2 separate regions of the Homo sapiens genome follow, and region 1 is linked to region 2. Evidence: promoter capture Hi-C in 16 types of primary human blood cells and fetal thymus (Javierre and others, 2016). All regions are on one chromosome and are shown on one strand. Each heading gives the region's core, a stretch centred on a gene start or on the middle of the fragment in contact. The rest is flanking DNA. Distances are from core to core; before and after follow the strand shown. Region 1 holds the start of ARHGAP45 (Rho GTPase activating protein 45). Region 2 holds the start of CD79A (CD79a molecule).

Region 1 (7,488 bases), core at 4,989-7,488, about 41 Mb after region 2:
GCTTGTGCCTGTCAAACTCCTATGCATCCTTCAAAACCCACTTCAAACATCCCCTCCTCCAGGATGCCCTTCTAGGCAGAGAGCCCTCGCAGCCCTGTTCCAGCAGGCTGACCTTTGACCTTGGCAATGAGGGTGCCGGCTGCGGTGAGCGTCTCCACGGTGTTCAGCAGCGGGTACTTGGAGATGATCTGATGCATGACACGCAGAGCCTCACCCAGGCACTCGTGGGCCCGCGGGCGGCGGGCCTCAAGGAGGTCTGCTGGGGAGAGTCGGAGTGAGCAGTGGGGTAGGGCCCAGTCCCAGGGAAAGTCTGTCCACCTCCTCCCTCTTTAGAGCTCCTGTTCCCAGATGGGGAAACTGAGGCAGAGGTGGAAGACGGCAGATGCCTGGGGCTCATTTCGAGACCGCGGGGAGGGCACTGTCCCTCCCTGGGCTACCGGCCAGATCAACAAAGGCCAGACGTTGGCCTAGGCACTCTGCTGCTCAGAACACTCTTTTCTTGTCCCTCCAGAAAGCAAACTGCCTCTTGTCCTTCAAGCTACAGTCCTGCAGCCCCTTCCTCCATGCAGCCCACCAGGCTCCTTCCCTGCCCTAACTCCTCAGGACTGCTCAAAGCCCTGTCCAGGTCTCTCTCTGCCCTTCCTAAGTGAGGAAACTGAGGCATAGAGAGGGGAAGCCATTTCTCAACAATCACACAGCTTTTCCATCTACGCTAGCTCTGAAGGCGTGAGAACGCCAGGCAGAGGGATCCTGCCTGGCTTTATCTCCAGGGCAATAGGGAGCCATAGAAGGTGTTAGAACAGAGGAGGTCAGATCTGACTGTTGGAACCTGGCTTTCACTGCCCTCCTCAGCCAGGGGTGGTGGCTTACACCTGTGACCCCAGCACTTTGGGAGGCTGAGGCAGGAGGACGGGTTGAGCCCAGGAATTCAAGACCAGCCTGGGCAATACAGTAAGACCCTGTCTCTGTAAGAAATAAAATAAAGAATAAAAAGCTAAATGCCCTCATCGAACGTTCTCAATTGGAAGAAGAAAAAAGCAGAGAGGGCCAAGCACAGTGCCTCATGCCTGTAATCCCAGCACTTGGTGAGGCCGAGGCAGGCAGATCACTTGAGGTCAGGAGTTTGAGACCATCCTGGCCAACATGGCGAAACCCTGCCTCTACTAAAAATACAAAAAGTAGCAGCGTGGTGGCACTCCTCTGTAATGCCGGCTACTCGGGAGGCTGAGGCAGGAGAATCGCTTGAAGCTGGGAGGCGGAGGTTGCAGTGAGCCGAGATCGCGCCACTGCACTCCAGCTGGGTGACAGAGTGAGACTCCTCCATCCCAAAAAGAAAGGAAAGAAAAGAAAGAAAGAAAAGGAAAGAAAAGAAAAGAAGGAAAGAAAAGAAAAAAGCAGAGAGTACAGGCGAAACATCGAGAGCCAGGCACACACCACGTAGTGGAAACAAACCCACGGAATTCGTAGGAGGGGAAAGGTACCCGGGAGGACAGAGGCCAGCGGGAGGGGCAGCTTTGACGCCTGACTGTACCGCTCAGAGGATGCCCCAAATACGAAATGAAATCTGAAAAAGTAAGTGCCCCATCCCTTTCGGCACCGAAGACCCCAGGTGAATGTCACCTCCGGGAAGAGACCGACCGAGTCACCCGCCAGAGATACCCCGCTGGCCGCCGCCGGGCCTGAGACCCCGGACCGGAACATGTCTTCGCTGCTGGATGCGAGGCGGACTCCGGGAATGGGATTGGGGCTCCAGGAGCTCCGGGAAGCCGCTGGGAGGCCCCGGCCACGCCCCTTCTCGGGACCTTCCAGCCGGGCACCCGGCACTCCGCGCGCGGCCGGCGCACGGACCCCCGGCTGTCCCCGCACACCCCCTACCCGGGAAGCCGGCGGCCGGCGCGACCCCTGCGCAGCGCAGGGATGCCCAGGTGCGCACGGCCAGGCCAGGCGCGCGGCAGCCGCTGCTCCCCCACCGCGGGCGGCAAACGGCCCGAGCGCCACGTGCTCCCGGACGCGGCGGGACCCAGCGCCCGGCACCTGTCCCCTCACCTCGGGGGCCCGCCCGGCAGCGCACGGGGCCCTCGTCCAGCACCGGGTGCGCCGTCCCGCAGATACACATGGCGCAGCCGTCGGGGCGCGGAGACCGCGAGCGCGTGGGGCCTGGCAGCTGACCGATGGGGGTCTCCGGTGGCCAAACCGGCTCCGGCCGGTCAGGAGGCCCCGCCCCCGCGAGGGAAACCCCGCCCTGGGGTCCCGTTCGCCCCAGCCTGGGTCCTTCCTTAACCGCAGAGCTTCGAGGTGGGGAGGGTCGAGGACGGGCAGGGAAACTGAGGCCCAGACCTGAAGCCCGGGAACGAGGAAGCCCGGGAAGTGTCGGGGTGGCACCGTCCATGTGGGTCCCCTCCTAGCTGCCTGAACGCGGGTCCCCAAGCTGTGGGGTGGACCCCACAACCATCGCTGCATGCAGGTGGCCCCATTTTATAGATAAGTCACCTGACACCTAGAGAGGGAAGGGGCTTGCCAGGGTCTCAGCAGCTGAGAAACATCGGGACTAGAGCCCACATCCTAGCCGCCAGGGTCTTCTCTGGCCTGGGGCGGCCCCGAGACGCACAGAAGGCGCCCCCAGCCGGGCGCGGTGGATCAGGCCTGTTATCCCAGCACTTTGGGAGGCGGAGCCGGGAGAACGGTTTTTAGCTCGGGAGTTCTAGACCAGCCTGCGCAATATGGGGAGACCCCGGTCTCTACAAAAAATACAAAAACTGGCCGGGCGCGATGGCTCACGCCTGTAATCCTGGCGCTTTGGGAGGCCGAGGTGGGTGGATCACTTGAGATCAGGAGTTCAAGACCAGCCTGGCCAAAATGGTGAAACCCCATCTCTACTAAAAAAAAAAAAAAAAGAAAGAAAAAAAATTAGCCGGGCACGGTGGCGCGCCCCTGCAATCCCAGCCACTCGGGAGGCTGAGGCAGAAGAACCACTTGAACCCAGGAGGTGGAGGTTGCAGTGAGCTGAGATCTCGCCCCTGCACTCCAGCCTGGGTGACAGAGTGAGACTCTGTCTCAAAAAAAAAAAAAAAAAAAGAAAAGAAAAGAAAAAGAAAGAAAAAAAGAAAAGCCCGGGCACGGTGGCTCATGCCTGCTGTAATCCCAGCACTTTGGGAGGCTGAGGCATGCGGATCACGAGGTTAGGGGTTTGAGACCAACCTGGCCAATATGGTGAAACCCCATCTCTACTAAAAATACAAAAATTAGCCAGGTGTGGTGGCACGCACCTGTAGTCCTAGCTACTCGGGAGCCTGAGGCAGAAGAATCACTTGAACCCGAGAGAGGAAGGTTGCAATGAGCCGAGATCGCGCCACTGCACTCCAGCCTGGGCGACAGAGTGAGACTCCATCTCACCATCTCAAATAAAATAAATAAAATAAAATAAATCAGGTGCAGTGGCTCATGCCTGTAGTCTCAGGTACTCGGGAGGCAGAGGTAGGAGGATGGCTTGAGCCCAGGAGTTCAAGGTAACAGTGAGCCTCAATCACACCACTGGACTCCAGCCTGGGCAACAGAGCAAGACCCTGTATCAAAAAAAAAAAAAAAAAAGTGCCCCACCCTGGCTGGCCCAGTTCAGACCTCCTGCAGGAGCCTGGGAGCTGAGCCCCGCCCAGGCCAGGCCTCCAAGGAAGCGCCAGGATCGGAAAGGAACCGAGATTAGGGTTTCCCCAGGAAAGCAGCCTAGCCCCCGCCCCTGGGACCAGATAACCCGGGGGCTCCCACTCCTCCCAGTGGGGACCGGGCCTTCCCCAACTAGTGCCCTGAAGGTGCAGAGGCCACTCCACCACTTGAGGTCCAGTCCTGGCTCTGCCCTGCCCTGGCTGGGTGAGCCAGGGGTCAGGGCCTCACTAGAGACTTAGTTTCGTCATCTGTAAAATGGGCGGCTGCTGGGAGCAGATCAGAGCGCCTGGCATGACCCTGGCACTGTGGTTTCTGGGAGGAGCCGGGGGCTGAAGGCAGCACATGAGGTGCCCGCCTGGGCTGCCAGGGACAAACAGGAAGCAGATGAAAATAACTCGGCAGGAAGCAGGGCTGTCAGCGGCCGCGTGGAGGAGAAAACGGAACTGCCGGCCTGCAGGCCGCTGGGTCCCAGCACCTCCGCCGCCTGATGACCCCATCCTGCCCCTCGCCATGCCTCCTGAATCTCTCTCCACCCAGACCTCAGCCAACCCCCAGTTTGCTTCATTCCAAGACACAGATCTGCCCCCATCTGTCCTGTGCTCTAACACCTTCTATGGCTCCCCATTGCCCTTCTGCCTGGCGTTGTCATGCCTTCATCCTACACCAGCGGCACCCCACACCTTGGCCCCCAAATGCATTCTCTGTTTCCGTGTTTCTGAGCCTGTGCATGGGACATTTCCTCTGCCTTTCCCTCCTAATTGCCATCAGATCCTTTAAAAAAAATAAAGTGGGCACCCTCTTGAGCCAGTGTACGCTCAGGGACTCCCCCACCAAACTCCTACACATCCCTCAGAGCCTTAGCTGTCATGGCCTCTTCCACACAGCCCTCCCTGCCATCTGAGCCTCCCTCCCTTCTGAGCCTCCCCAAGTCCCTCCCTCCATCCTCCCTTGGGTCTGGCTCTGTCTTCCACCCAGGCCTCGGTGTCCCCGTGGCTCTCACCGTCACGCAACACACACTCCTTAAGTTTCTCAAGGCCCTCAGCGAAGCGGGCCACGTCCGCCAGCAGATGGGAGATGTCCTCGACGACGTCCGGGCCGGCACCCTCGGTGGGCAGCTCGCCCGGGCTGGCGGCTGTCAGTGGGCTCCGGTGGCTCCGGCCCAGTGTCCAGGAGGCAGCACCCGACAGGGGGAAGCCAGCCGCGCTGGCGTGGCGGCTCAGGCTGGTGGGCCGCTTGAGGGTCCCTGTGGCCTTGACGCCGGAGGACCCAGCGGGCGGCTCCAGGCTTGGTCCGGGGAACACCGCGTCAGCCCCATCCTTCCTGGGCAGCTCCTTGGGCAGGTCCGAGGGGAGCTCGTTAAAGGGATTTTCCGGCCTGGACACGGCCTCAGTTTCCCCAGAAATGAAGTGGGGCTGTGGAGGGCCACCATCACCCTGACCCCACAGGGGTCAAAGGCCAGAGGTCACAGGGCCGAGATTTGGTAGTGTACCCCCCCACCTGTTACCCAACATCCTCTTCCCTAGAGCTTTCACAAACAACGGTCCTTGCCCAAACCACAGCCGGGGCGGGGCCTGCGGGGAGGCGCGGGAGGGGGGTCCCCACTTCCTGGTGGGGGTGGGGAGGGTCCTCAGCCCTTCAAGCCCCCCTCAGGCTCCTACAACGCAGGTGCTTTAAGTGAACACACTTCTGACTCTGTCTGTCCCCTAAAGGTCCATGGAACCCCAGAGCCTATGGGCAGCCCCAGGCCTTGTAGACATCCCGGACCCCCAAGCTCTGTAGACCCCCCCCCCAGCTTTGTAGACACCCCAGGCCTGGGGACACTCCCCAACCTCTGAACCTGGTGGATCCCATTAGAGGATCTGCTGCCCGGTCAACCTTCAGCCCAATGGCCAGGCCACAGCCCTCCCATCTCAACGGCCCCTAGAGCCCCCAGATTGCCTAAGCCCCCAACCTGCAGCGGCCCAAACACAACATCGTCCCAACCCGGCACCCTCCCTTCCTGCTCCCTGGGCCCCGCGGCCAGCCCTGGATGGAGTGGAGGGAGGCGGCCACCACTCCCAGGGTCCCTACCGTGAGCTGAATGCCGGGGTCCCGGCCTCTCTGCTGTGGCCCCTGCCGTCCCGCCCGGTAGGGGCTGTAGCTGGCACGAGCCCCCAGCCGCCGCCCCAGCATGAGCCCCGAGCACAGGGCGGGTCCCTGTCCCCCTGCGGCCCGGCGTCAGCTCCGGGTCTCACCCGGGCTCCACTCACCCCCGAGGGCTGCGGGCTGGGGCTTCCCGCGCGGTTCTTTTTCGAGATGGAAGGGGTTTTCATGAGCTCTCGTTTCTTCCTGGAGAACATGATGGGGCCCCGGCCGGGAGCCCGAGGGGGCGGGCTGGGGGTCTCAGCGCTGCAGCTCCCGGCGCTGGCCGCTTCGGGACCACATTGTCGCCGGCCACCCCCTCCCCAGCTGTCAGGCCCACGTGACAGGCCCGGCCGTCACTGGCGGGCCCTCCCCCCAACAGGAAAAGGCTTCGGGGAGGCGGCGACGCGGCCTCGCCCCCGACCCTTCCCGGCCTCAGCCTGCGGCTCTGCGGAGTGGGCGCGAAGGTGAGGTCGCAGGCCCCGCCCCCAGCCCCGGGCCGCGCCCCCCGCTTCCGCCTTCGGGAGCTCGGAGCCGCGCCGCTCGCGGGGTGGGACCGGGAGCCCCTGCCTGACGCTGGCGGGCACGGGGCGGCCGACTGCAGGGCGCTGACTCTCACTCCCGGACGCGAGTGGGCGTGCACAGACACGTGCACGATGACACGCAGAGACCCGGACCTCCACACGCGCTCAGACGCCACCAAGCCCCTGGAGCCTCGCCCTCAGACCCCAGACACACGCACAGGCCGAAGCTGCGCCCCTGCAGCCCCCTTTTCCCTGAAGGCAAGCCCGCTCCACCGCCTCTCCTGCAGACCCTAGGGTGTGGCCGGGCCCCAGCAGGGCCGGGCAGAGTAGGGTCCCCCCCATCACCCGCCCTGCAGCCCCGTGAAGTGGGTCAGGTCGAGGACAGGTGGGGAAACTGAGGCCCAGAACCGAAACCCTGGGGGCAAAGACGTCCAGGAAGTCAGAACAATCCAGGTTACCGGGCCCTGTCCGTCTGGGTCCCCACGTCCGTCTGGGTCCCCACGTCCACCTGGTCCTGGGCTGCCTGCACAGGGGTCCCCAAAGTGTGGTGTGGACCCCACCATCGGCAGAATATGCTGAGGACACCTGGTTACCTCTCAGCAGCCCTGTGGGCCATATCATGTTGCCCCAGACCTGCCCTTAGCTAAGGTCCCCAGCCCCGCCTCCCAAGCTGCATTCCAGTGACTCTGGACCACCGGACGTGCTGGGCAGCAGGACGCAGGCACCCGTTGCTGATAACAGCCTGAGGCGGCATTGGCCAAGAGCTGGGGCATCTGCAGGCATACAGATCCCAGCCTCCTACCTTCCCCCAACCCCCACCCCGCAGTGTGAACTCTCTCCCCCCTCCCCAAGTCTCCCTGCTGTCCCCTTCCAGAACCCCACCCCCAATCCCAAAACCCCAACCTCTTTCCTTTCCCAAACCCCATTCCCACCTACCTCGGGTGGGAGGGGCAGATCTCTGGGGCACAGGACATGAAGGCCACAGCCCCTTGCTCCAAGTCTGGCTCTCCAGGCCCAGGTCCAAGTGCAAACCCAGCCCAGCAGACCCTTGAGAACTCTTTGCCCCCGACTCATGGCGCTGAGGGCTGGGGTCAGAGGGTGAGGGTCAGCTGGATGTCGGATGGGCTTCTGGCCCGGCCCTGGCCTGTGCTCCGGGACACCGGGCTCCTGTAAGCTTCCCAGG
Region 2 (7,531 bases), core at 2,440-4,939:
AGCTGGACATCTCCTATGTTGAGGCTGCCCACATCCTGGTAGGTGCCCTGGAGGCCCCGGGAGATGTCCTCATACATGGAGCAGTCGTCCAGGTTCAGGCCCTGGGATGGAAATGAGGCAGCGAACATCAGCACCCTGACACCTGGGGTCCCTGCCCCCAGCCACCCCCAGAGGGAACACCCCCACCCCTAACACAACTGCCCCTACCCCATCCCCACCCTTCACTCACTTCATAAAGGTTTTCATCTTCATATTCATCCCCGGCATCCAACCCGAGCTTCTCGTTCTGCCATCGTTTCTGTAGGGGTGGGTGGGGTGGGTGCCTCAGTGAGCAGGGGGAGGTGAATATCTTTCAGACCCTCCTGGATGCCAGGAAGTACTTTTCCAGAAAGGGTAAGAGATGTCCCCAAGGCCACATACTGGTTATGTAACAGTTCTCTCTGAGTCTACAACCAGTGTTCTCCTTCCTTCCTTCCTTCCTTCCTTCCTTCCTTCCTTCCTTCCTTCCTTCCTTCCCTTCCCTTCCTTCCCTCCCTCCCTCTCGCCCTCTCTCTCTCTCTCTCTCTCTCTCTCTCTTTCTCTCTCTCTCTCTTTCTTCTCCCTCAGTTGCCCAGGCTGAAGTGCTGTGGCAACATCATATTTCACTGCAGCCTTGAACTCCTGGGCTCAAGCAATCCTCCCACCTCAGCCTCCTGAGTAGCTGGGACTATAGGTGTGTGCCACCATGCCTGGCTAATTTTTTTTTAAGACTTTGTGTGTGTAGAGATAGGGTCTTGCTGTGTTGCCCAGGCTGGTCTCAAACTTGTGGCCTCAAGTGATCCTCTTGCCTCGGCCTCCCAAGCTAGCGTCTTCTTGAGTCTCCACTCCCTTACTATTCTCCATGAATAATAACAATAACAGTCACACTTTCTGTAGTGCCTAAGGAGAGGCTGGTACAGATCAGAGATTCTGGGAGGACCAGGCCCCACCTTCCCTGGTCTTGGCTACACCTGGAGGGTAACCACACTCCTGGGTGAGGGCAGGAGGGGAGTGAGGACACTCTTAGGGAGAAGAATGAGACTCTTCTTGGGGGGAGGTGGACGTGAGGACAGCCCAGAAGGGGAAACTAAATTGAAGACACCCCCTGGGCTCAGCGCCAGTTCAAGTCCCTTCTTTATATTCATTCATTTAACTCCCACAGCCCCTATATGGTGGGTGCTTTCATTCTCCCAAGTTTTGGATGGGGAACCTCAGGCTCTAGAGGGCTACCTGGGTATTGGGGGTCCCTCGGCCCAGGCCCTCGCCCGGCTGACTCAGAGGTCCGAGGGGGCTCACCCTGAACAGCAGCAGCGTCCCAGGCACCACCGCGCAGAACAGGAGGATGATCCCCTCGGCTGTGATGATTCGGTTCTTGGTGCCCTCCCCCATGTCCAGGAAGGGCCTGGGGGGCGGCTCTGCAAGGAGGTAGTATGGCTCAGAGCCCTGGCCCCTCTTGCCCTCCCTAGCCTCCTGGCCCCGCCCACCTCCTGCAAGGCCCCAGACCCCCCAGAGACCCCACTCTGCAGAGGAGAATGTCCGTCCCTCTGTCCAAGCCGGTTTGAAACCCACATTGAAGGTACTGGCTCTATCCCCACTTCAAAGATAAACCGAGTGTCCCCAGCGGGACAGTGGGAGTAGGGGCCAGGGCTGGGCCACTCACGGCGCACGCGGAGGTAGGTGCCGCAGGACTGCTGGTATGACTCGTTGCCCTCCTGGACCCGGCACACGTATATGCCCCCATGGCTCTTGTTCACATTCTGGATGATCAGCGTACCATTGGGGTCCTCGCCCGGGCCCAAGAACTCAGGGGGCCACGTGTAGTTGCCATGGAGGACGCGCCACCAGGTGACGTTGGCGTTGTTGCTGCTATTGTGCGGGCATTGGAAGTGGGCGTCTTCCCCCAGGCTCACCATCAATGATGCTGGGACCTTGTGCATCCACAGGGCCTGGCACCCAGGGCCTGTGGAGAGACAGGGTGGGTGGGTCAGGGACTGGGGATGGTGACACATTTCCCCAGCCCTGGCCCCTGCAGTTCCAGCACTCCTGGGAAGAGGGTGAGGACTCTCCTGGGTGGGGAGGGAGAGAGAGAGCCCCTGACAGGGGCTGATACATCCTGGGGAGAGGGGGGATGCGGGAAAGTGAAGAAGCCCCTGGGAAGGAGAGAGGACATACCTGGTTGGGGTGGGTGAGGATATCCTGGGAGAGGAGAATGAGACTCCCTGGGATGGTAAGACCCCTGGGAGGCCCTTCTCACCTCTGCAGCGCCATCTCTTGCCCCCCTCCCGCATACCCACTTTGTACTCTGGCCCTGTGAACTCTCTGGATTTTGGATGTTTGTTCCAGGCACTGGAGGACCGCTGTCCAGACAGCTCCTTCCAGAAGCAGTGCAGGCGTCCCCTCCTCCCGCAGCCTTCCCGGTCCATTTTTGCACCCCAGCCTCAGCCAGGCCCAGCACCTGGCGCTTTTTCTTGTGTAATCATTCACAGAACCCTAGAAGTAGGTTCTCTCCTTAGCCCCATTTTACAGGAGGGATGGCTGAGGCTCTGGGAGGGCAGGCGGGTTGCCAGCATCACCAGGCAGTCAGGAGTGGCACTGGGTTCAAACTCTTGGCTCCCTGGCCTCTCCCTGCCTGGGCTGAGGAGCCAGTCTGTGGCCTGCCCTGGCCTGTGACCCTGTGCCTGGCCCTCATTCTCTGTAAGTTGTATGTGTCAACCTAGGGGTCAGGGGTGAGTTCAGTCCTTGGGCTGGGCTGCTGGTGATTGAAGGGGCTCAGAGCGGGGTGGAGACTGGGGGTGTCTCTGAGTGAGACGAGGCGGCTCAGGCTGGCTGCAGTGTCCAATCCGGGCTCCTCTGGGAAGCCCCAGCTCTCAGCCAGGCCTCCCACATGGCCAGTCCCCTCTTCTGGAGGTAGGTGGAGGAGGGAGGTGAGGAAGAGAGAAGGAGGAAGAGATGGGGAGAGGGGCCGAGCACCCTCATCGTCACGGGCTTAAGACTCAGACGTGAACTCCAATCCTTGCTCCCAGTGTCCCCTTGGGTGGGGAACCTTTTTCTCTGAACTCCTGGGTTAGCGTGGCCACAGCCCCTGCCAGCTGTCCTTGAGCAGGTGAGGGGGAGTCCATGAGACACCCATTCCCCCAGTGCTGAGAAGGGACTCCCAACAGAGAGAGGCACCTGAGGTTTAAGGCAGAGAAAGCTTTTTCTCCCCTTGACAGACGCTGAATGCTGCTACCCCTAAGTCCCCTTCCTGCCCCCAGCCCTGGTGCTCAGTCAAGAGCAACTTTAGTTCCTTATTTTGGCCTGTGGGGAACAGGAGGTGGGGGAGGTGACTCTTGCTCCTGCCTCCCTGTGTGAGACTGTGGACGCCCCTTCTCCTTCGCTGGGCTCCCTCCAGCCCCACCTTGGCCCATCTTGGCACAGATACGATTTCTATAGGCATCTTCCCTGGGTCCCCTATCCTCTGCCTCCTCTTCCCCTTTCCCTGAGCCCCCTTCCCTCTGCCTGTGCCCTCTCTGCAGCCTCCACAGCTTCCCCCACCTCCCGCCAGTTCCTGCCCTTTGGCCACATACCCAGGTAGACAGCAGACAGCAGGAAGAGGAGGAAGATGGTGGCAGGCAGAGCTTGGAGGACTCCTGGACCCCCAGGCATCTTCTCCCAGTGGGTTGGTTAGTTTGAGTTGCAGCAGTCCCAGGGTACCAGATCCCTACCCCAAACCCCACCCTACTTCCTGCCCAGCCCCCCGGAGATGGGCTCCAGTGGCCCTCGCTACTGGGCCCTTTGCTTGTTGGGCCTGGGGACAGCCCCTGCCGGGTATGCTTCAGGCTGTGAGTGGAGAGAAACTGCTCCCTGCACCTGTGGTGGCCACAATTCCCCTGAGAGGTGGCTGCTTGGGTGGGGGAAGAGGCTGGTTCAAGGGCTGGCTCGTCACTGCTGAGCCTTTGGAAGGAAGCCTAGGGAACCTGAGTCCTGGGCATGTGTCATGGGCAGGTGATGGTTCTGAGCTTGACCTCTCCCCCTGCCTGGACTTGGGCAAACCTTGTCCCTTCCCTGACCCCATTTCCTTGCTTCTTGGGATTAGAAACAAGGACTTAAAGGGGTTGTCACATGCACAGAAATGGCCCACAGTAGGCGCCCAGTAAATGTTAGTCACTATAAATACTCATGAAGAATAAATAAGGCAGGCTGACCTGTGGCTGACTACCCGTGTGACTAGGTGGGCACTTTGATCCTTCGAAGCTTGACATTTTTCATCTGTGAGATGAGGACCAGAATGTCTCCCTGTCTCATTATGTGATACGAGATGGTGTTCCTGGTATTCAAGGAGTGAGAACCATGATCAGCTCTTTACTGGAATTCTTTTTTTAAAAAAACAGGCCAGCTATGGTGGCTTATGCCTGTAATCCCAGCCCTTTGGGAGGCTGAGACAGGAGAATCACCTGAGGTCGAGTTTGAGACCAGCCTGGCCAACATGGCGAAACCCCATCTCTACTAAAAATACAAAATTAGCCAGATGTTGTGGCACATGCCTATTATTCCAGCTACTCAGGAGGCTGAGGCAGGAGAATCAGTTGAACCCAGGAGGTGGAGGTTGCAGTGAGCTGAGATCACACCATTGCACTCCAGCCTGGGTGACAAAAGCGAAACTCTGTCTCTAATAATAACAATAATAACAACAACAACATATATTTTTCTTCTTTTTTTTTTTTAAGAGGGATGGGATCTTGCTATATTGCCCAGGCTGGTCTTGAACTCCTGGCCTCAAGCAATCCTCCTGCCTCAGCTTCCCAAAGTGCTGGGATTACAGGCATGTGCCACTGTGCACAGCCAGAAGTTGTTTTATATTGACCTGCCATGACTGGCAAGGTAGGCCATCCCCCATTTTACAGAGGGGGAAACCGAGGCCAGAGAGGGGAGGTTGTCACTTGCGGGTGTCATACAGTCTAGGGGTGGTGGACAGAGATTCAAAGTCATCTTTGTGTTGCTCCCAGTTTCCTTTGAGCATGTCTGGTAGGAGGGAAATGAGGTCTGAGTGGGGAGGGCGGAGTTGCTGAGATATTTGTGAGCAGTTAGGGGACCCTCACACACATACAAGGGGATATATAAAATAAATTTATTGCAGGGAGATTTTTGGTAGCAAACATTGAGAAGCAAATGAAAAGTCCATTTGTGGGAGAATGGGTGCATACACTGTGGCAAAGTGAGCCAACAGAATGCTACAGAATAGGGGAAGGTGTCATAAGGCTGTCTCAGAAACAGCACAAACATCAGAAAAAATATCGTAGCATGATACAGTTGACTTGTTTTCAAAAGGCGTCCGCTGCTTAGGGACACACGTTTGTAGCAGAGGTGTAGACCCGTGCAGGGGAGTGGCAAACGCCCAGTTCCTGGGAGGGGTTACCTCTGGGGGACGCCAGGGTTGGGTCTGGGGAGGGACACACAGAGACACAGAGAGCTCATCTTGTCTTGGTTTTATTTCCTGTGTTACTTTTTTTTTTTTTTTTTTTGAGACGGAGTCTCGCTTTGTCACCCAGGCTGAAGTGCAGTGGCGTGATCTTGGCTCACTGCAACCTCTGCCTCCCAGGTTCAAGTGATTCTCCTGCCTCAGCCTCCTCAGTAGCTGGGATTACAGGCGGCCACCACCATGCCTGGCTATATTTTTGTATTTTTAGTAGAGACCAGGTTTCACCATGTTGGGCAGGCTGGTCTCACACTCCTGACCTCAGGTAATCCACCCACCTCAGCCTCCCAAAGTGCTGGGATTACAGGCGGGAGCCACCGTGGCTGGCCACTTTTTTTTTTTTCTTTTTTAGAGATAGGGCCTCTCTCTGTCACCAAGGCTGGTGTCCAGTGGCATAATCATAACGTCAAACTCCTGGGCTCAAGTGATTCTCTTGCCTCAGCTTCCCAAGTAGCTGGGATTACAGGTGCACACACCATGCCTGGCTATTTTTAATTTTTTTTTTCTTTTGAGACAGAGTCTCGCTGTGTAGCCCAGGCTGGAGTGCGATGGTGTGATCTTGGCTCACTGCAACCTCCGCCTCCCGGGTTCAAGTGATTCTCCTGCCTCAGCCTCCTGAGTAGCTGGGACTACAAGCAGATGCCACCATGACCGGCTAATTTTTTGTATTTTTTTAGTAGAGATGGGGTTTCACCGTGTTAGCCAGGATGGTCTCAATCTCCTGACCTGATGATCCACTCGCCTCGGCCTCCCAAAGTGCTGGGATTACAGGCATGATCCACCGCACTGGGCCTATTTTTTAAATTTTTTGTAAAGACAGGGTCTCACTGTGTTGCCCAGGCTGGCCTGGAAGTCCTGACCTCAAGTGATTCTCCCAGCTTGGCCTCCCGAAGTGCTGGGATTATAGGCACTGCACCCTGCCCTGCCTGTGTTACTTAAACTGGGTTGTGCTTCATAGGTTTTTCTTACATTATGAATACTGAATGCTAAATACTTGCATGCCTGAAGTATTTCAGATTTTTTTTTTTGAGATGGAGTCTTGCTCTGTTGCCCAGGCTGAAGTGCAGTGGCGGCACAATCTTGGCTCACTGCAGCCTCCGCCTCCTGGGTTCAAGCTGTTCTCCTGTCTCAGCCTCCCAAGTAGCTGGAATTACAGGTGTGCACCACCATGCCCAGCCAATTTTTTTTTTCATAGACACAGGGTTTCACCATGTTGGCCAGGCTGGTCTCAAACTCTTTTTTTTTTTTTTTTTTGAGACGGTGTTTCACTCTTGTCGCCCAGACTGGAGTACAATGGTGCAATCTTGGCTCACTGTGACCTCCACTTCCTGCATTCAAGCGATTCTCCTGCCTCCACGTCCAGCTAATTTTTGTATTTTTTAGTAGAGACAGGGTTCCATCATGTTGGCCAGGCTGGTCTCGAACTTCTGACCTCAGGTGATCCACCTGCCTCGGCCTCTCCAAGTGTTGGGATTACAGGTGTGAGCCACCACTCCAGGCCAAGGTCTCAAACTCTTGACCTCAAGTGATCTGCCCACCTCTGCCTCCTAGAGTGCAGAATTTTAAAAAAGTGCAATTGCCAGCTGGGCGCGGTGGCTCACGCCTGTAATCCCAACACTTTGGGAGGCTGAGGCGGGCGGATCAGAAGGTCAGGAGATCAAAACCATCCTGGCTAACACAGTGAAACCCCGTCTCTACTAAAAATACAAAAATTAGCCGGGCATGGCGGCGTGTGCCTGTAGTCCCAGCTGCTGGGGAGGCTGAGGCAGAATGGCGTGAACCCAGGAGATGGGAAAAGGGCAATTCCCATCCACGCAGAAGAGCCTGGGCCTCAAGAGTCCAGGATTCTTTTACAACTCAGCTCTGCCAACTGACTGGTCATCTGAAACTCAGTTTTTTCTCCTATAACATGGGTACAAACCCCCCACTTGATAAGACTGCAAGAATATTCTGCAGTGCATTTGGCACAGTATCTAGGACAGTTCTGTAGCCCTGGGAACCAGGACCCCAGGTGTTCTGCTGGGGTCACTAGCCCCTCTGCACTTCAATTCCCCGTTA

What was found. The method cuts DNA at HindIII sites, captures the fragments that hold promoters and counts their contacts. A CHiCAGO score of 5 or more calls a contact.
Region 1: a contact is called between the fragment with the promoter of ARHGAP45 here and the fragment with the promoter of CD79A in region 2, in 1 of 17 cell types (non-activated CD4 T cells). The highest score is 5.9, in non-activated CD4 T cells.

What each region holds. Positions count from the first base shown.
Region 1 is chr19:1,065,917-1,073,404 of GRCh38, reverse strand. It overlaps ARHGAP45 (Rho GTPase activating protein 45), which reads right to left and starts at 6,238. Exons shown (of 23, transcript NM_012292.5): 1 at 5,910-6,238; 2 at 4,661-4,991; 3 at 113-256. The coding sequence starts at 5,999. RefSeq lists enhancers at 3,939-4,098, 6,289-6,795 and silencers at 4,489-4,588, 5,119-5,358, 5,669-6,428. The HindIII fragment of the contact is 10,211 bases long and covers 1-7,481 here.
Region 2 is chr19:41,873,437-41,880,967 of GRCh38, reverse strand. It overlaps CD79A (CD79a molecule), which reads right to left and starts at 3,689. Exons shown (of 5, transcript NM_001783.4): 1 at 3,585-3,689; 2 at 1,679-1,978; 3 at 1,315-1,433; 4 at 230-298; 5 at 1-101. The coding sequence starts at 3,663. RefSeq lists a silencer at 3,488-3,547 and enhancers at 4,955-5,024, 7,360-7,531. The HindIII fragment of the contact is 1,040 bases long and covers 3,214-4,253 here.